Regions from separate parts of the Homo sapiens genome. Here region 1 is linked to region 2. Evidence: promoter capture Hi-C in 16 types of primary human blood cells and fetal thymus (Javierre and others, 2016). All regions are on one chromosome and are shown on one strand. Each heading gives the region's core, a stretch centred on a gene start or on the middle of the fragment in contact. The rest is flanking DNA. Distances are from core to core; before and after follow the strand shown.

Region 1 (3,786 bases), core at 7-2,506, 590 kb before region 2:
GTCCATAAGCTACCCAAAAAGTGTACCTGCAGTGTTCATCACTAAAAATCAGCTGGAAATTTGATTTGCAGTCTAGAGTAAGGATTTTCAAGTTAGTTCAGGATACACTGATTTCTGATTCTTCCATGGGTTTGCCTTTGGCTCAGTCAGTTTTGACGCAATAGATGGGAGTGATTTCCTTAAATGTTAATTTGACTTTTTAGTAGCCATGTGCATAACAGAAGCACTCTGAGTAACACTATGTGTTGTGTGTGTGTTTGTATTAGTCAGTTCTCATGCTGCTAATAGAGACATATCCGAGACTAGGCAATTTATAAAGGAAAGAGGTTTAATTGACTCACAGTTCCACATGGCTGGGGAGGCCTCACAATCATGACAGAAGGCAAATGAGGAGCAATGCCACGTCTTACATGGTGGCAAGCAATAGAGCTTGTGCAGGGAATTTTCCTTTATAAAGCCATCAGATCTTGTGAGACTTATTCACTGTCATGAAAGCAGCATGAGGGTAACCACCCCCATGATTCAATTACCTCCCACAAGGTCCCTCCCATGGCACAAGGGGATTATGGGAACTACAATTCAAGATGAGATTTGCGTGGGGACACAGCCAATCCATATCAGTGTTTGAAAGACAAAGTGGTGGCATACACAGCAGCCTCTCGAGGAGGGTACTAAAATGAGTTTCTATTTCTATATCACACTGACTGAGATTGGGGAAGATAAGAGTAGGGTAAGGTGAGCAAGCTCAAAGACTGAGGAAATGTTGCTTGGTATGAGAAATTTTACTCAGATAACCTCAGGAGTGTATAAAGAAGAGTTATTGTATTCTACTCACAAAGTGTTTTTGTTGATGATGGCCTGATTGGAAGATGAATTACCACCCGCCAATGAAAGGCAACCTTACAAAACCATTTGAAACCCAACTATCTCATGTTATATTGGGTTGTGGATAGTACAGTTCAACTCCAACAGGATACCTTTGGCTATGTGGGTGCATGTTGACAGCTTTAAGGAGGGCCACTAAAGTGTCTTTCATAGTGCTAAAAGCACCTCAAAATGAGTAATTTATTTTGGAAAAGCATATTAGGAGAGAAAAAATGTTTCATCTAGAAGCACTGATATGAGGAAGAGACTAAATAAATGAATGAAGAAGTTAGTGCAGAGTAGAGACAAGCATGAATTGGTTTCACAGCTGCTTCTGATATGGCCAATAAAAAAGATAAAGAAGAAAAAGAATCAAGCAGCCAGGGAAAGGTCAGCTCCTTAAGGGCAGGCCTCCTGCCTAGCAGTACACAGTTATCCCCAGTGCCTAGAATATGGTAGGCACATGGTAATCTCACATTTTGCAGTAAAAATAAATACATATGTACAGGAGCTAAAAGTATATATTAAGAAGGAAGTTGCTTGACATTAGATAGAGTCTTGATTATTTTAGCTCCATGATAGGGGTTGTCTTTGACAAAATTTCCTCTTTTTTACAGTTGTCATCTAGGTAGCTATCTCTATTGGTGGTGTTCTTTAATAGGTGTGGGAGAGAAGCCTCAAGGGACAGAGTGATCTGAAGTTGTTACATTAAATAGGTTTCCCAGGCAAAGCAAGAAATGGCCTGGAGTCTGCTCCTGGTTACAACTTTAATCATTACATACAAGCTGGCTGTGAAAATCCATCTGAATGATGAACAAAATACTTTAATCTGGACTTCATCATGTTACTTTTGCTACTTTGGAGTTCTGAATTCATCATAAGAATGTGAAAGATTTACCTGCAATGGCAGTTCCCTCGAATTCCAGTAAATCCATGAAAGAATGTGTTGCTTCATGGAATGGATGAGAGAGGGAAAACATTCTCTCAGGGAATCAGAAATAGGAGAGATTTGGGTGGCTGGGGGTGGAAGGGCAGTTCAGGTTCCAGAAAACAGAGCTATTGGAATTTGGATGAGGGTTTTAAAACATGATAAGGCCTATCAGGAGTCATAGGTTGATAGCAATCAATGAGTAAAATGACTCCTTGTGTTTGGAAAAGAAAATCAAGCAGACTTGTGGAAGTCTGTGGTCTTGGATGCAAAAGGAAGCTAAAGCTACAATAGTCATTAAGTCAATGGAAGTGAGAAGGAACTTTTAGAAAATTTGATTAAGACAGATAAGGGACTGGATTCCAGGAATTAGGTTAAGAGAATGACAGTACCCCTCAGAATATAAGGTTTGTCTAATTATTCTGATATAAGGATTATTAGTTATAAAGACTATTCTCATCATGTAGGTGGAGGACCTGGTGCCCCAATACTACAGGCACAACAGCGTGGAGATGGTTCCTCTCTGCAGAGCCCTGCATTCAGCCGCATGCCTAGGACAGTGGAAAGTGCAGGGATGTTCTTTTGCCTGTTTACCTGTGACAAGATCATCAAGTTTCTCAGCTCAGAGGGGACACTTAGAGTGGGGGAATGGGTAAGACTTTTCTGCTATAAGTGAGGAAAAGGAAGAAATGAGGAAAATGACAGAACAATCTATTCCAGGGTCAACTCTAGTATATATTATAGGAGAATTGTATTTCTTGCAAATAAAAGCAGAGACCTTCTGATGTTTGTCTTTTACTTTAAGATAAGAGAAACTCAATTGACTCTTCCTACTCTAGATCTTAAATACACACAAGGAAGGTGTCCTGAGCGAGGCACTCATGAGAAGTTAGCTAAAGTCATTTTCAGATTTAATGATTGCAGGTGTCATAATGAGTGTGACATCTCTCTAGTTCTTTAAATAGCACTGCGGATGTTCTGTGGTTAGACTGGCTGCCCCAAATTACCCAGAAGTGAAACTGCTTTTTTGGTGATGCCTATGTCTGATCCATAACCTCCATCTTTTCTGTATCTTTTTTTTTCTCTTAAGATAACACAGCACATTTGAGGATGCTTAAAGTATTTGAGTGGTGCTACTGGCTATAATTAAGTTCTTTCAGCCTTTCCATTACAAATTCTTCTTTCCGAGGTTTAATATCTCAGAGACTTCTAATCCCACTGGGCCAAACTTAGTATAGAAGCTGTCAGCAGAAATGCAAATTTTTTTGCCCACCCCTAAATATTTCTAATCAAACAATTTTTTTCCCCTCATTACAGCAAAGGTATAAGGAAATAGGTTTCAGGCACTTTTGAAAAGCAAGAAAAAAAGTAATCTAAGCACAAAATCTGAGAAAAATGCATAAGAATGCAAAACCTGTCTAGTTTCGGGGTAGGTGGGCAAATATTGAAGACATACAGCATCAGAGAATTTTTGCCTTGTGTTTTTTAGCTAAATTCAAGATGTAACCATGAAATAAACTGACAGCATATTGTTTGTTGGTTTGAAATTTTGATTTTTTGTTTTAAGGAGAAGTCCGTGTTACTTCTGTGAAAATTTAAGATGAGCAAATAATTCCAATATACCCACATAACTTGGGCTATGGTTGAAATTTTTTTTTTATCTTTTCCTTTGTGTCTTGAAGATAATTGAATGAAAATCATTTGTAGCATTATTGGTTTATTTAAAAAGGTTTAAAAATTAAACATTTTATTTTTATTTTTTGTTGTGGTAAATAATGCATAACATGAAATTTAGCACCTTAGTCATTTCTAAGTGTACAGTTTAGTACTGTTAACTATATTCATGTTGTTGTATAGCCAATCTCCAGAACTTTTCATCTTGCAAAACTGGCACTCTGTACTTATTCTGTTTCGATGAAGTTGAGTACACATAGAAACCTCATATAAGTGAAGTCGAGCAGTATTTGTCTTTTCATGATGGGCTAATTTCAATT
Region 2 (3,955 bases), core at 1,423-3,922:
AAAATTTACAGCTCTGCCTGGGGAAAACACACCCCTCCTTTTTAAGGAGAATGTAGACCCCCCCATCCCCCCACCCAGGGATCTTCCTGCAATCTCCAACCAGCCCTGGATTGTTGAACAGCCCCTAGGCCACCACCCCTCCCCCAGGCTACCCGAAACTGGCCTCTCTTCCTTCCTACACACGTGTTTTTTGGTGGGGTACTTTTCCTGTGACAAACTCTGCACTAAGTGCTATAGTGAAGATGGATGTATCCTAGATGGGCTTCCTATCCATGGTGGGAGGGGGAGGGAGGATTGTACCCATAGCCCTCATGTTTCTGGTCCCATCAAAACACCCAATACCCCAAGCAAAGATCTGGCCTCACCCCAAGGTGGGGTATTCCTGTTGTCGAAAGAGAGGTGAACAGGGAAGGAAATCTTGGTGGGACTAACTCCTAACTTCAGGCTAAGGTGGCATCTCTCCGCTGGGTTTAATGGAAGCCTCCCAGGGTTGGAGGGTGAACCGAGGTGCCTTTTGGGTACTCAGGAGCTCACCTGGCTCTCAGAGGCCCCACCCGGCCGCAAACCTGTACTGTTTACCTTTCTGTTGCTCCTGTACCCTTCAGGGTCCCTAAAGACCAGCGCTTCCTTGAGAGGGGAGGGGCAGGTTCCAGGCCCTCACCCTCTGTGGGGGCCTTTTCTTTCCCGTCAAGAGAGAGCGCAGGGAACGGCCACCAGGGGTGTCAGGAAGGACTAGGTTAAGCCCGGACTCCCGGTGTGATGACTACCGTAGGACTCACTCTTTCCCTCTAGCGACGTCCTGCTCATCGTCCACTCCCCGTTGAGATAAAGTTGCATTTAGCGCTCCCAGGGGACTGCGTAATGGATGGAACCAGCTCCTTCTCTCACCAGCAAGTGAACATCCTTCTCACTTCCCTCTGGAGCTAGAAGGAAGGGAGGGGGTGGGGGGGAACATGAAAAGAAAGAAAGAAAAAGCCATGGTGACGCCTGTGGGCTCTTCTTGGAATCTGAGTAGGTGAGTGGGTATGCTAAACACACATGCATTTGTGCAGAGGAAAGATAAAATCCACGGGAACGCAAATTTAGGTTTATAGAAATGAGATCTGCTCTTTGGTGGAAATACAGACTTCCTTGGTGTGGGAGAGAACAGAAAGATTATCTGATTTCTGCTTTCCATAAGCAGCCCCTTGCTGCTCTCCAGCTCTCTTACCGCAGATGTGATAACATCTGGGCTGTTAGGTTATTATCACCGCGAGCAAGTGCTCCTTCCCTGGGGACTTTGGCACCTGAACTGTGGCTCCCCTGGGAGGCTCTTGATCTGCTACCACATAAGGGCCATATAACAGGTTGGCTAATTGATTTATTCTTTTTAGGTCTTAATTTCACAATAATTTTTTAAAAATTTAAAAACTGGACCAGAGCTTGTCCCCGTTCTTTCAAATTGGCTTGATTTAATATTTTTGAATCAAGCTTTCCTGTAAGTTAGTTTGATCTGTCTCCTATTGAAAAAAATATATATAAGCAGGCAGAGATATGAGGCAAAAAGCCAAAAAGATGGAAGGGAAAAGAAAGTTCTCTTTTCAACATCTTATTCCCTTTTCTCTGAAGCAGTTTTCCTGGAGTTCCCAGCATAAAGTGTGTGTGTGTGTGTGTGTGTGTGTGTGTGTGTGTGTACGCTGAGGGGAGGAAGGATCCCAACTACACCCTGTTAACTGTTTTTTCCTTTTGATTACTAGAAGCCTTAGATCACCCGGAGCTCGTTTGAAACGTGGGTTTGTACACGGTTGAAGGAGACAAACAATAAGAGAAATGCACAATTTCATTTCAACAGCTTTTCCCGAGTAGAAAGCACACGCTCCTTGTGGCTCCTAAGTGGCTGTCACTGGCGGTGCCTGACACAGTTATATTCACAACAACAACAAAAAAGTATGCGGAGGAAATTAAATTATATGGAAATCAATAGCGTCTGACTGCTTCAAACAAATGTCTGTCACCGCGATTATTCTCCAGGAACCTATTTATAAACCTTTAAAGAAACAGGTTCTTGCAGCAAAAGACAGCACCTTCTGCATTTCTGTGTTGTTATTTATACTGTATACAGAGGAATGCGCGGGCATAATTTAACGTAGAAATGTCCAGCTGTATACATTATACAACAGCTTGTTAGGCATCCCGAAGAGGAGGAATGCCTAAGTAATGCTCATATATTCAAGGCTTGCTATCAGGGAGAAGAAACATACACACATACACACACACGCACGCACACACACACACACACACACACATAGAGGGGCGTGCGCGCATCTCGTCTTTTTTATTCTAAAAGGTGCCCACCCTTAGACAATAGCTGGACCTTCTGATCTTTCCAGACCACGGTGGGAAAGGTGAGGCGGGCAGTGCGCATGCCCGGGTAGCTACAGGTGCATCACCTGCGCTGTCCTTGCTGGTGGTCACTATAAGAGCGGCTCCCACGCGCTGGTCGCGGCCGGACGAGCGCGCGCGCGCGCAGACGCACGGGGCCGCCGAGAAGGAGAGCGCGCGTCAGACAGACGGAGACAGCTGATGCCTGTCAGCGCGGTGGGGCCGCGAGCTCTCGCGAGAGCTCCCCGGGACGGCCGCGAGAAGTGGGGCTCAGGTGTTAGAGGAGTGCATCCCGTCGGCGCGCGGGGCTAGAGCTGTCGGAGAAGCGGGACCGCGAGGCCGGCGCGCGGCGCTCTGCGCGGTCAGAGGGAGCGCCTGGCAGCAGCAGGAGCAGCAGCAGCAGCCCGCGGCGGGGCCGCCGCCAGCCGCCGCGACCGCCGCGGCTGCAGCCTCCGAAGGGAGGCCGGGTGAGCCGGCGTACGCACTTTCCCGCGGACTTTCGGAGTGTTTGTGGATATACATGCCAAGCCGCCACGATGATGTCCATGAACAGCAAGCAGCCTCACTTTGCCATGCATCCCACCCTCCCTGAGCACAAGTACCCGTCGCTGCACTCCAGCTCCGAGGCCATCCGGCGGGCCTGCCTGCCCACGCCGCCGGTAAGCGCCCCACGCCCGCGGCCCCGGCCCGCGCGCCCGCCCCTCCCCGTCTCCGAAACGCTGCATGTCGGGGGCTGGTGTGTGCAGGTCCCGGTGCGGGGAACTGCGGGCAGGGGGTGTAGAGCAGTCCCGCAGCGAGGCACGTTTTGTCCGGCGGCCCTTAATGTCGTGTTCCTGTCTGCCTCTGCCTCCGCGTCAGGCGCCTGCGATCGGAGTAGGGAGCGCTGGGGCCAGGACTCTCGACTTCCCTCTACTTTCTCTGTTAATTTCACGCCTCAGAAAGGCAGTCTCTGTGCGTGCTCGGGTGTGTGACACGGGTCCCCAGCTGCGAGTTACATTTCCATTTCTTCTTTTCCCTCTTTTTCGTCTCCCACGCCCGTTTCCGGAATGTGTTCTTGTGTCCCCCTTTCTCCCTACTTCTGTCCCCCTCTCCACGCTCCCATCCCTTCTCGTCTGCCCCCTCCCTGGTCGTCAATGTGCCCCCTCTCCGTCTTTCCCGCTCTCCACTGCCCCCAAACCCGTTGTTATTTTGGTTGCTTTGTGTTTGCCCTTCGCATGCTGTGCTTTCCGGCCTGTGTGTGTGTTTCTTCTGTTGTTTTGTTTTGCTCTTTTGGTTTTGTGGTTTTTTTGGTTTGGTTTGTGTCGCCTGCAGCTGCAGAGCAACCTCTTCGCCAGCCTGGACGAGACGCTGCTGGCGCGGGCCGAGGCGCTGGCGGCCGTGGACATCGCCGTGTCCCAGGGCAAGAGCCATCCTTTCAAGCCGGACGCCACGTACCACACGATGAACAGCGTGCCGTGCACGTCCACTTCCACGGTGCCTCTGGCGCACCACCACCACCACCACCACCACCACCAGGCGCTCGAACCCGGCGATCTGCTGGACCACATCTCCTCGCCGTCGCTCGCGCTCATGGCCGGCGCGGGCGGCGCGGGCG

What was found. Contacts are between HindIII fragments. The CHiCAGO score rates a contact against its expected background, and 5 or more counts as called.
Region 1: a contact is called between a fragment that was not itself captured here and the fragment with the promoter of POU4F1 in region 2, in 1 of 17 cell types (total B cells). The highest score is 5.8, in total B cells.

What each region holds. Positions count from the first base shown.
Region 1 is chr13:79,193,471-79,197,256 of GRCh38, reverse strand. No RefSeq gene overlaps it. Among named protein-coding and RNA genes, the nearest start is that of RBM26, 210 kb to the left of the region's middle. RefSeq lists enhancers at 2,220-2,339, 2,600-2,819, 2,930-3,019. The HindIII fragment of the contact is 7,662 bases long and covers 1-3,786 here.
Region 2 is chr13:78,602,269-78,606,223 of GRCh38, reverse strand. It overlaps POU4F1 (POU class 4 homeobox 1), which reads left to right and starts at 2,672. Exons shown (of 2, transcript NM_006237.4): 1 at 2,672-3,020; 2 at 3,673-3,955. The coding sequence starts at 2,898. OBI1-AS1 (OBI1 antisense RNA 1) reads right to left here. Exons shown (of 6, transcript NR_047001.1): 4 at 780-923. RefSeq lists a silencer at 2,722-2,881. The HindIII fragment of the contact is 4,390 bases long and covers 1,473-3,955 here.